Linked DNA regions of Homo sapiens: region 2 is linked to region 1. The links are contacts of gene promoters, found by promoter capture Hi-C in human tissues and cell types (Jung and others, 2019). All regions are on one chromosome and are shown on one strand. Each heading gives the region's core, a stretch centred on a gene start or on the middle of the fragment in contact. The rest is flanking DNA. Distances are from core to core; before and after follow the strand shown. Region 1 holds the start of CCL27 (C-C motif chemokine ligand 27). Region 2 has its middle 28 kb from the start of RUSC2.

The links. Contacts are between HindIII fragments. The study calls those that stand out against the background at their distance.
Region 2: a contact is called between a fragment that was not itself captured here and the fragment with the promoter of CCL27 in region 1, in 1 of the 25 tissues and cell types used here (hippocampus).

The regions. Positions count from the first base shown.
Region 1 is chr9:34,659,663-34,665,953 of GRCh38, forward strand. CCL27 (C-C motif chemokine ligand 27) reads right to left here and starts at 2,995. Exons shown (of 3, transcript NM_006664.4): 1 at 2,902-2,995; 2 at 2,622-2,754; 3 at 2,228-2,417. The coding sequence starts at 2,971. The coding sequence ends at 2,282. It overlaps IL11RA (interleukin 11 receptor subunit alpha), which reads left to right. Exons shown (of 13, transcript NM_001142784.3): 9 at 97-238; 10 at 612-731; 11 at 842-938; 12 at 1,192-1,274; 13 at 1,820-2,240. The coding sequence ends at 1,836. It overlaps LOC730098, which reads right to left. Exons shown (of 3, transcript NM_001320038.2): 1 at 5,951-6,291; 2 at 5,652-5,711; 3 at 4,501-5,528. The coding sequence starts at 5,997. The coding sequence ends at 5,372. It also overlaps a transcript of PHF24 not described here. RefSeq lists an enhancer at 1-467 and a silencer at 5,708-5,957. The HindIII fragment of the contact is 14,352 bases long and covers 1,092-6,291 here.
Region 2 is chr9:35,459,309-35,465,599 of GRCh38, forward strand. It overlaps the pseudogene ATP8B5P. Among named protein-coding and RNA genes, the nearest start is that of RUSC2, 28 kb to the right of the region's middle. The HindIII fragment of the contact is 6,634 bases long and covers 1-6,178 here.

The DNA of each region.
Region 1 (6,291 bases), core at 1,745-4,244:
GGATGAGACTGGGAGCAAGGGGTGCTCTTTGTAGATGGTGGCTGGGAAGGCCCTGCACTTACAAGCTGGGTAACAGTGAGTCATGTTTACCCCCAGGTGGAGCCAGCTGGACTGGAGGAGGTGATCACAGATGCTGTGGCTGGGCTGCCCCATGCTGTACGAGTCAGTGCCCGGGACTTTCTAGATGCTGGCACCTGGAGCACCTGGAGCCCGGAGGCCTGGGGAACTCCGAGCACTGGTGAGAGACAAAGCCAAAGAAAAGGGCAGAGGCCCCATCCCAAAGCATCTATCAGCTGAACCAGTTCCAAAAGACAGGCAGGTGGCACATGCCCTGCCCACACAGGCACGGCAATTGCTGTCCCAGACTTCAGACTTGTTTGCCTACAGCCCTGTCTTAGCTTAAGTCCTGCCCCTTGGCCTCCACCCCTGCAGTTACAGGCTCCACTTCTACAAGCTTGGAGCTTGCCATGCTCCCTAGGAGCTGGCCATGCCCTATCAGGCTCCTCCTCCTAGGTACCTTGACTTCCAACCTAGGCCTTGGCCTTGAGCACAGGACGTGACCCCCGTCCCCACCAGCGTATGGACACTTATTGGGTCTTGCCTTCCTTTAGGGACCATACCAAAGGAGATACCAGCATGGGGCCAGCTACACACGCAGCCAGAGGTGGAGCCTCAGGTGGACAGCCCTGCTCCTCCAAGGCCCTCCCTCCAACCACACCCTCGGCTACTTGGTGAGCTTGGGCAGATGGGCAAGACTTGTAAAGGACTGAAAACCCCAGAGAAAAGGGGACACCGAGCTTGGTCAGGCTTGCTCTCAGTGACATGTGGCCCTCCCCCTCAGATCACAGGGACTCTGTGGAGCAGGTAGCTGTGCTGGCGTCTTTGGGAATCCTTTCTTTCCTGGGACTGGTGGCTGGGGCCCTGGCACTGGGGCTCTGGTAAGTGACTGCCATTGGTCCCTCAGCCTCTGATCCTCACACATGCTCTGATGCCCATAGACCACATTCATCTCCACCCTTCATGACTGCCCGCTGAACCTGTCTGATTCTGGAACTACCTCCCCATACCTCCATCCCCCATGCCCCACTTGATTTTAACTGATTCCTCTCCTGACCCTTTACTAATAAACCCTTTGGCGGAGACTGAGATAACCCACATTGTTGGAGAGACAGCTGCCTTTCTATGCCCCAGGCTGAGGCTGAGACGGGGTGGGAAGGATGGATCCCCAAAGCCTGGGTTCTTGGCCTCAGTGATTCCAGTGGACAGGCGTCCAGGTGAGTAGGACATCCAGAAGATTTGGACTTGGAGATGTTTGCCCCTATTTTGAGTGTCCAGATTAAGAGCTGGCTGCCCTAGTCATTTTAAAACATGCTGGGAATCCAAGTTGGGTCTCCTCATTTTAATGATGTCTAGGCTGAGGGCTGGGCCTTTCATTCTTGAGTCCCTGGGCTCAGAAGTGGGTCTCTTTCCCTCCTCTCAGGGTACTGAGGAAGGACCCCAGGTGGACTTCCCTTCAGGGTATTAGTATTAGTACTAATACTCTTCCAGGGTATTAGACTCAGAGCTGGATATTCATCCTTTTTTTTCAAGGTGTCTTGGATCAGTGCTAGGTCCCCTCCTTCATTCTTAATGTGCCTGGGCCCAGAGCTAGGTCCACTCCCGTATCTTCAGTGTGTTGAAGAGGCTCCCTCAGAGCTGGGCTCCTCTACTCATCTTCAGAGTGTTAAGCTTAGAACTGAGTCACCTCCCTCATTCTCAGGGTGTCTGGGCCAAGATCCGGTCTTACTGTCTCTCCTGATTTGCCTCCTGCTTCTTCTAGGAGCTCCAAACCTGTAGAGGACCCAGGAGGGCTTCGGCAGATTCCACCTATAATTCTGTCTTGCTGGTGTGGATAGAAACCAGGCAGGACAGTAGATCCCTATGGTTGGATCTCAGCTGGAAGTTCTGTTTGGAGCCCATTTCTGTGAGACCCTGTATTTCAAATTTGCAGCTGAAAGGTGCTTGTACCTCTGATTTCACCCCAGAGTTGGAGTTCTGCTCAAGGAACGTGTGTAATGTGTACATCTGTGTCCATGTGTGACCATGTGTCTGTGAGGCAGGGAACATGTATTCTCTGCATGCATGTATGTAGGTGCCTGGGGAGTGTGTGTGGGTCCTTGGCTCTTGGCCTTTCCCCTTGCAGGGGTTGTGCAGGTGTGAATAAAGAGAATAAGGAAGTTCTTGGAGATTATACTCAGAAATTATTATCCAATGCTGCTTTATTATTTGGCTATTGGGGGCTTCAGCCCATTTTCCTTAGCATCCCAAAATTCAGCTTGGGCAGAGTCCCATGGAGCTTTCTCTCTTGGTGCTCAAACCACTGTGACAGGCTGGGGTTCTGGGGGTGGATGCAGATGCTGCGTTGAGCCAGGTGAAGCCTGGGTAGAGAAAGGTCCAAAGCTATGACCATAGCTTGGGGATGAGATTAGGGTCATCCCCAATGACCCTAATTAGGGGTTAGGAGCAAGGACCAGATGAAAACCTGAGTTGGCAACAGAATTAGCAGTTAGGGCTGGGGTTGGGATCAGCATTAGGGGTTGGGACTGAGGTCAGAGTCAGGGGTATCAGGGGTGGGAGCTCACACGAAAGCCTGGAGGTGACAGTCCCCGTCAGCCTCCTGCAGTTCCACCTGGATGACCTTCCTCAGTAGCTTGTCTGAGAGTGGCTTTCGGTAGAGCTGAGTACAGCAGGCAGTGCTGGGTGGCAGTAGGAATGCTAGGGGCAACAGGGCCATGTGTTCAGAGGGATCCTGACCAAGAACCTCTCTGCCAGACAGCTGGAGGTTAGGTTGGATTTCCTGGGTCTTTTCAACTTCATCCCATTCACCCAGACCCCCAGCTTTCTATACCCCCAAGTACTCACCTGCTGTAGGGTCTGGGCTCAGGAGCAATGACAGCAGCAGGAGGCTGCAGAAGGTTGGGGGCCCCTTCATGTTGCTCAGCCTAGACTCTTCCTTCTCTCTCTCTCCTCCTCCCCTACCTTTTATCTGGGTGCCTTTTACCTGGGGCACTAGGTGAGTCAGAGGCAGTTGGAGATGTACTGTGTAACCTGTGACACTCCTGGGCCCTAATTCTCGGCCTGTTGCCACAGACTCCTTCCTCATCTAGGATAGCCATTTCCCATGTGCTCCTAAGCTCTGGGCAGTGAAGCTGGGGGAAGGATTAGTGTGTGATGTAGGGACTGATGGAACAGTGAGTAAGGGCAGTCAAGCATCCACAGCAGCATCTAATGATAGACATTCACACTCAAATACGCATAGCCACACATTCAAAGTCACTCCTCAATCACTTGGTCAACCTCACAAAGTCATACTCATGATCAGACAACCGTAGACAAAATTATATAGCCCCGGTTATACTCAAAGTCCCTCTCCCACCCAATTGTGTTTTCACAGTCATCCAATCACAAGCAAATTCACACTAGCACACACAGATTCTGACAGGGGAGTTGTGGGTGGGGTGGGAGCAGAGGGCAGGCAAGCACCAACTTGCCTTCACCTTCTCCTCCCCACTTCCTGGCTTGGCCTGCCTGTCTTATCAGAAGAAATGGATGGGAATGGGTCCCTAGAGCAGGCCCTTCTGGCTGAGGAGGGTTCTTGGCTGAGGCCAGCCCCATTCAGAGAAGCTGGGGGAAGGCCCTTTATGGTAATATTAAGGGTGTTTTGGAGATGCTGAGGTGGGGCAGCTTTCCCCAGGATGATGAGACAGGGAGGAAAGGTGGGGTAGATAAGGAGGGAAGATAAAAGCTCTTTGGTGCTAGGTTACTGTTGTCAAAACAGGTAAAAGGCCCAGTGAATCTTACCTTCCTGTTTTTGTCTAGTCCTGTTCCAGGAATGCCAACCTCTTGCCAGCAGGGGCCTAGGGTCTCCAGATCCAGTCCCTGACTTGTTGAAGACATTGGACTCAAGCACTCAATTACATCTTTGTTTTACTCAAATTCCAGCCTCCTTCCTGGGCCTGGAGGAACATCCCCTCTCCCTACCCGGGTTCAGTCACACCCTCATGTCCAACTGCTATACCCCCTGCATCCCACCCTCCAGCTATAGCCGCTTCTCTCCTAATCCCATACCCAGCTGTCACTCCGTTCTTTACCCCCTCCCTGCAATGCAAAGCTCCTATTCATCTTTATCCAGTCCTTTCCAGGAAGCTGGGAGCTGCCTAGGGTGGGGGTATGCTGCCAAGTTCAGTGCCCCTGGCTCCTTTAAGAATTTCCCACTCCTGGTCCAGGGATCTCAATCTGCAAGTCCTGCTCTATATTTGAAACATAAACCAAGTCATAACACAGTAATCCAGCCCTTATCTTGTTGCAGTCGTCTGCTGTAGGGTCAGCCACTCTCTATGGAGTAGGCTTTCTCTTGGGATAGGGCTTAGGCCTTTCTCTTGTGTCCCAAGGCTTGTTGGGTGTAGCCACTGAGGAAATCCCAAGGAAATCTCCCAGGTTCCTCGGGCTTGTCATAGACCTTCTTCATCACTTGGCTGTGCGCTACATACTTTCTGGTCTTCCCTGGGCTTGTCGGTCCAGAAGTCTTCGGAAGGCAGAAAACAAATGCTTTTGGGTGTGCACCCATCTCTCCCCTTTAAGACCAAGTCTTCTCCCCAGCCACAATCTGCTGTAGCTTTGGCCCCAGCCAGAAACTGGGCCATCTCTTTCTTTAACTTAATCTTGTGGTGCCCTTTCTGGTGCTGGGTCCAGTCCCTAACTGAAGGCAGGCCCACATAGCAGTCCCTGATTCTCACCACTTGAGGAGTTAGTGGGTCCCAGGCTGATTGGGTGACAGAAGGGGGCGGCAAAGAGCAGTGGCCCTTGGACTCTCCTAGGGAGGGAGCAAGAACTTCTAGGTAGGCTGATGCCAAGGATCTCTAAACTTGGGATCAGACTGGAGGAGCCAAAAGTTGGGGTATGAACTGTAGGAAAGGTCGCCAACCCAAGTCGCTCCTCTGTGGCAGGCAGCTTCTAGGAATCTCCCCCTCTTACCATTTACAGCCTGCATCCTACACCTCTGCTTAAAATGTTTTAGATATACTCCCAGCAGAGAAGATTCTTCAGACAGCTGGCAAAGTCCTCGCTCCGAGGAAGGGAGTAACAGGCAGGATTATTTAGTTCTCTTCATATAGGCGACTCACAGTATGGGTTTTTGGGGGTTGGGATTGGGGGAGACAGCCATTGATAGTAACAGGAGGCCTGACACTGATGAGGGGCTTTGACGTGGAAGGGCACCCTTCCAGGGAGGGACGCCCTGTCAGTACGGAACAGAGCCCGTGTGGGGAGGGGCGCTCGGCTCGAATGGCGACAGCGGCGGCAGAGTCAGGAGGTCAGTACGGTGGGCTTCGGTTTAAATCTTTAATGCACTGGCTGGCTGGGCAGCGGCGGTGGGGCTGCGGCGGGGGAAGCCACGACCCGAGCGCTGGGGAGTAGGACCCAGGCCGCTGGACAGACAGCTCATCAGGCCTCGCAGAGGCTCCAGCTTCTGCTCCCCGGGGTGCGCCGAGCTGTGGGGCGACCCGACACTGGCATGAGGCGGGGCGGGAGCTACCGGATTCCCCCCGATGGGTCCTCAGAGACTGAGTCCCGTCCATGCCCGGGGCGGGTCCGCGGTATCGCAGCCTCCTCACCTCCGCTCCCTCCGCCACATGCGAAGCCAGGGGAAAAAGTAGAAACAGCCCCAGTAGATCCTGCAGAGAGAGGGCAGAGCCGGGCGGGGCGGGGCGGGGCGGGGAGGAGCTGACCCTACAGACTCCGCCCCGCGGTGCCTCGCCGTCGAGGAAGGCTCCGCCCCGCCTCTAAAAGCGGCTCCCTTCGCGCCCACGCCCCTGGGAGGCTCGCCCTGCCCACCCCTCGCCCCCGCAGAACTCCACCCTCCCCCACCCCGGAGCCGCCTGGTTCCTCCTCCGCAGAACCCGCCTCCACTCACTCCTCCTCCGCCTCCAGCGCCACCTCGTATCTCCTCATTCCCGACATGTCCTGGGCTCCGAACGTCTCCTGGGGAGCGGCATGATTGAATCAGGGATTCCCTAGCCCCAGGTCCCCTTCTCCGTCATTCTCAGGACGAGGCTGCCCAGTTCTCAGGTAATCTGAGGCTGATGCCCCCGAGAAGCCTCAGTTGCCACCACGGGACAGGGTGGGCTTGGAGATTTGGGAGGCACTGGAAGTTAAGGGGTGAGGAGGCCGGTCATCTCCGGGGCCTGGGGCATTTAGGGGGCCAGGGCGAGAGGTTTGGCGGTCATGGGGCTGGGAGATTTGGGGCCCTGGGTG
Region 2 (6,291 bases), core at 1,612-4,111, 800 kb after region 1:
GTATAGCATTCTTTTTACATAAACTCTCCCCCCACCTCTTTTTTTCTTTTTCCTTTTTAAATTTTCCTAAAGATGATAACCATTCTTTTCTAAAGCGAACTTGCTTCATGTCTGTGGACTAGACTGCCTAAGGCCATAAGATTAGAAGTTAGGATAATACGTGTTATATTGATAACTTTTAGCAAACTTTACTTTTGTCGAAAACCTTCTAAGTTTGGGATTTCAATTATCCTTTGCTGTTAATAAGACCTTGTTTAGTCTAAATTAACTTAGAATTGGTATAGATGGTTCCTTCCTGGTCTGTGAGTACGTCAAGGCTTGGCTGAGTGCAAACAGCTTGCAGGTTTGAGCAGACCAGTTATTAGGAAATTTTCCTAACTCTGCTTCTACAAGAGTTTCCCTATCAATTACTGAATACCCACTGTCGTTTGTTTTTTTTTTTTTCCCCTCAATCAACCGGGAGGAACCATCTATCGTCCTGTCCTGAAGAGGGTTCCTCCTAGGTCTGGTCGGACCTTTGTATGGTAATTAAGATTTAAATCCCCAGTTAGGAAACCTGCTGGGTTAAGGGAATTTTCAGTGGTTAATGATAAATCATCTTTTTCTAACAGAATAGCCCTATACTTTAAGATTTTTTAGTAAGCTACCTTTTTGCTTTTTGACTTAGGATAGTTCTGAACTGGTGAGGTGTGCTCACAATGAGGTTTCCTCTAAAAGTTATTTTTCTACTTTCTTCTGTTAGTAAAGCAGTTGCCGCTATAGATTGAGTGCATTTGGGCCATCTGCTGGTTACTGGGTTAAGGATTTTTGATAGGAAGGCTACAGATTGTCAGTGGCCTCAGTGCTTTCGGGCTACACCCTTGTTTACACTGACAAAGAGGTGGTATTGGAGTGTTATAGGGTCACAGAGAAGACCTTCAATTATCAACTATAGGTTTTAAATTTACCCTGGCTTTTAAAGGAATAGGGTACACTGTTTTTTTCTTTACTACTTCTATTTTTCTCTTTCTTTCTCTTTGACTTTCTCTCTTTCTCTCTTTGACTCCCTCTTTGTCTCTCTGCCTCTTTCCCCTCTCTCTCTGCCTCTCTTTCCCCTCTCTCTCTCTGCCTCTTCCCCCCCCCACACACCTCTCTTTCCCCTCTCTCTCTCCCTCTTTCCCCTCTCTGTCTCTCTCTGCCTCTTCCCCCCCACACACCTCTCTTTCCCCTCTCTCTCTGCCTCTTTCCCCTCTCTGTCTCTCTCTGCCTCTATCCCCTCTCTGTCTCTCTCTGCCTCTCTTCCCCCCCACCGCGTCTTTCCCTCTCTCTCTGTCTCTGCCTCTCTTTCCCTCTCTCCTCTCTGTCTCTATCTCGCTCTCCTCTCTGTCTGTCTCTCTCTGTCTCTCTCTCTCTTCCCCTAGGGTAGGGACCTACGGGAGTGGAACTACTCTCTCTTCCCCCAAGAAGAAAGGAAAGGGCAGCGGGGGGGTTGTGTCAGGTTCAACCCTTGAAATTAGCAGAAGGCTCAACCCCTCAACACCAGGGATGTCTCACCTTGCCCGTCCTGGAAGGCTCAACCCCTCAAGCCAGGGGGTGTCTTGCCTGTCCTGGAAGGCTCAACCCCTCAAACCAGGGGGCATCTTGCCTTGTTTGCCCTGGAAGGCTCAACCCCTCAAACTAGGGGGTGTCTTGCCTGTCCTGGAAGGCTCAACCCCTCAAACCAGGGGTGTCTTGCCTGTCCTGGAAGGTTGATCTGTTTCTCCCCTTTTCCCCCTCTGAAGGTCCTTTGCACACTTCCTACTCATGCTGCCCTCTCTGGCTGCTCCCCCAAGGTAGAATCAGGCCCTTCTTAGTGTTGGCATGCCAGTATAAATCCTATGGCAGGATCCGCCCTAAGCCATATGAGGTAGCTGTGGAACTGCAGAGAGGACCCACTCACTCCGTCGAGCAGTAGGACTTGTCACCATCCACATGAATAACACCACAAGCAGGGTTGTTGGTGATCATTCACACACACACACATTTAGCCCTCCAGAATTTGACCACCAAGGAAGTACTTTACGGGCTCCCATGGCATCTCCTTCCTTGGTCTGTGCAGAGTCATCACTGCAGTATGTGAGGATCATTTAAGCTAGGTTGCTGGCCAGTACCCCCTCTCCCTGACCCCTCGTGTTGTTAAGAGCTCAGGTTATTCCTCACACTGGGTGGGTCTTGATTTCTCACCCCTGAGGCCGCCACAATAGGGCCGGGTGCACCTCCTCACGAGAGAGAACCAGAGACAGTCCTGGAGGGGAATGTAATCCTGGACGAGCCCCCCAAATTGTTATATATAAAGTTTTGGTGCCACAAAAGAAATAGCATTCAAATATAAAATTTTCTTTTTAATTCTCAGCAAGGCAAGTTACTTCTATATAGAAGGGTGTGCCCTTACAGATGGAACAATGGTGAATGCACACTTGGACAAGGGAGGGGAAGGGGTTCTTATCCCTGGTGTACGTGGTCCCTGCTGCTGTGTCATTCCCCTATTGGCTAGGGTTAGACCACACAGGTTAAACTAATTCCGATTGGCTAATTTAAAGAGAATGATGGGGTGAGTGCTTTGGCAGGAGTCAGGGCAGAAGAGCAGGTAGCAGGTAATTGGAATGATTTCGGGTGGAGCAGGTGATCAGAATGAGTCAGGGTGGAGTAGGTAATCGAAAAAGGTTGCTTTATGAGGAAGTTAAGTTTAAAAGTAGAAGGCAAATAACTGAATATACTGACATATTAATTCTCTGAAAAGAAATTTAGAACTCATATCTAACAGGAGAGAGTGGCATGACATATTTAAAATGCTGAAGGGGAAAAAACTTTACCTAGACTAGTATATCTAGTAAAAATATCTTTCAAACATGAAGGAAAAAGAAAGATTTTTCCAGACAAACAAAAGTTGAGCAGTTTCATTAACATCACACTTGTCCTACAAAAAAATGCTGAAGAGAGTCCTTAAACTAGAAAGAAAAGGACGTTGAGCAATAAGAAATCAGCCACCATACCTGGCTTCATTGTAGTTTTGATTTGCATTTCTCTGATGATCAGTGATGTTGAGCACCTTGTCATATACCTGTTTGCCATCTGTATGTCTTCTTTTGAGAAGTATCTATTCAGATCTTTTGTCCGTTGTTAAATTGGACTATTAGGTTTTTTCCTGTAGAGTTATTTGAGCTCATTATAATCCCAGCACACAGGCAACCAAAGCAAAAATTGACAAAATGGGATCACATTAAGTTTAAAATCTTCTGCACAGCAAAAGAAACAATTAGCAAAGTGAAGAGACAACCCACAGAATGGGAGAAAATATCTGCAAACTGTCCATCTGACAAAGGATTAATAACCAGTCCCAAACAAAAGAACTGCTTTTGAAAGAAATTTAACAACCTACCTGCAGAGAACTAAGGCTTGTAAATCTGAGTGTCAGCACTTAGAGTAAAACCCACTTAATTTTAAATTTGGGGGGCTTGAGTTTGCCTGCAAGTTTCTTGTACATCCTAGGGTGAAATTTGTTAAAAAACGTATTCTTTCTACCAACAGAGAACTCATGGTTTCCCATTCAAGGGAGTGGCCTGTTAGGAAAACAAAATTAACCAAAAGAAATGAAATCTACTCCAGCAACCTATAATAATCAAACTATTATTTTACTTATATTTTTAAGTGGACTAGAGGGAAACAAGTAGCATAAAAAGGTGGATGAGGATGAACAAATAGAATAACTGACCCTGGAAGCTGGGTGTGGTTCCCAGCTACTTAGGAGGCTAAGGCAAGAGGATCACTTGAGCCCATGAGTTCAAGGCTATAGTGCACCATTACTGCACCTGAGAACAGCCACTGCACTCTACCCTGGGCAACTTAGCAATATCCCATCTTAAAAAAAAATACCTGAACCTAGAATAAACAAATTATATTTCAGGGAAGAGAAAAGAAAAGAACTTTAAAACATTTTTATGACTAGTCTCAGAGAAAAGAAACAATTACATATATAAAATAAGAATAGGTTGCTTTAAAAGGGGGAAAGAAGAAAAATATCTAAGAACAACAACAAAATAGAATTTGGGAAATCAAAAATGGGATTGCTAATATTTTTTTAAAACCCATTAAAGGATTAAAATCTCTCCTGGACCATAAAACAAAAAGACACAGAGACAGAAAATATTAGAGAAATAATTTGTTTTTAAACAGAGGATCAAACTAGAAAGGTTTAGTTACAGAGAAGAGAAATCCCTTTAAAATTCTTATAGAGATAAAAATAAGATATTAACAAAAATGGGAAGCAGATTGGTATCGGATTTCTCAAAAGCACCATTGGGTCCTAGAAACCAGTAGGGTCATACCTTCAAAGTTCTTAGTGAAAAATATTTTGACCTAGAAATCTGTACCCAGGAAAACTGCAAGTCAAGTAAGAGAGCAAACTTGTTCCTACCCTAGGACCTTTACCCTTGCTGGCAATGTCTGCCCCCAAGTCTTTGCATGGCTTGCTTCTTTTTCATCATTTAATGCTACCTTTTCAGATAAAAGGTCTCTAACACCCCCATCAAGACCCTCTATTCTATTAACCTGTTTTATTTTCCTCACAGCATTTATCACTAAATGGTATTTTTTTCATTTCTTGTTTGTTGTCTACCTCTCTCCACAAGGATGTTGTCTTTTTTCACCACTGTGTCCCTAAGTCCCTGGAACGATCCTTGACATATAATGGGAGCTTCATTATTATTTGTTGAGTGAGTGAAAAAAATGAATGAACGTCTTAGCCAACAGATTATGAGCCTCTACAGTAGAAATTACACCATATTCATCTTCATATTTTTGGAAGTGCCTTGCACAAAGTAGTGCTTAGTAAATCTCTATTGAATTATTAAATGAAGAAATGTTCTTGAATTAGCTAGGTTCTTATCAGCTCAGCAGTTTTGTTTCTGTGGTATTTGTGCCAGGACATTGTCAATTAGTCATATGTAAAACACTTCCATTTCTTGAAGTAAACTGAACCAGAAATCCTTCCTGATTTAAACACTTCATTTTCCCCCATTTTTTGGAAATGCCTCTTAGAAGAAAATCTGGCAGACACAGGAAGCACGTTTAGCAAAGCTCCTTCCTGATGAGCCCACCGCTGAGCTGGGGGTTAGATCCCTTCTCTCTCCCCAGTGACCAGAACTCCCAGTGACAATGCCTTCTAAATCATGATCTGTTAACTAGGAGTGTATTTGTGAGACAAATGAGCAAAGTGCATGAAATTGAAATGGTGCCAGAGATCCAGGATCTCCTTCTGGGGTAAGGCACAATGTAAAACACAGATGTGAAGGGCCAAAAGCCCAAGGAGTGCTTTCTTTTGACAGGCTGCCTGAGGCCAGGGAGCACCTTTATGAGACCAGTGGCCTTGATTTTGGTCAGTTTTGTCAAGAGTGACAAAATTATTTATTTCACTCTTTATTGAAGCCACTTTTTGCTAAATGGGAGGCTGTCTGTGCTTCTTTGGTCTGACTAGCTCTGGTATTAAGTAATCTCTAGGGTCTGTAGCAATAACCAAACAAACTGATGATTTATTGTTTCTTTCTCCTTATGGAAAGGAAGTAAAGTGAAGCTTTAAAGACTAAGTACCAAAAAACCCTATCACAATAAAAAGAAATGTAGAACATCTGCAAGGGCTTTGAAGGCCTCATGATGGCAGGAAAAGCTCTAGCAATGAAGAAAGAAAACACTGTGCCCTACACCTTCAGGATTCAGGCTGTCAGGGTAGCCCTGCTTTCTGGGGCTTGGGCTGATAAGAAGTGGTCTTCCTTTCTGGTGGCTTAGTTTGAGCAGTAGAACTCAAACTCAGATCAATAATTCACTGAGGCTTTATCTGAACCATGAGAATAGCTTTGTTTTCACATGATTAATTGAAGAGAAAGATAAGAAGTGGGAATAAGATTGAGAAGGAAAGATTGCATGGCCCCAGAGAAACCCTCATCACAAAGAGCTGAGCTACTCAGTGTGAATCTGGACTGGGCTAGGAATAAAAGCAGATTTTATGTGTTTTATCCCAATTCTCCTTTGTTTTGTTGTTCCCCGGCCCCTCACTCAACTCTCAAATACCAGTTTTTGATACTGAATGATATTAAGCGTTTAGTGCTAATTTTTAAGTGATACTGGTTTTGATTGTGTTTTAAAATAAGATCTTAACCATTTAGAACTATATATTAAACAGATGAAATTGCATAATGTGACAGATTTATTCTGAGAAGGCAGGGGAAGAGGAGGTTTGGATGAAATTAGACTGGCTATGAATTGACAATTGTTGAAGCT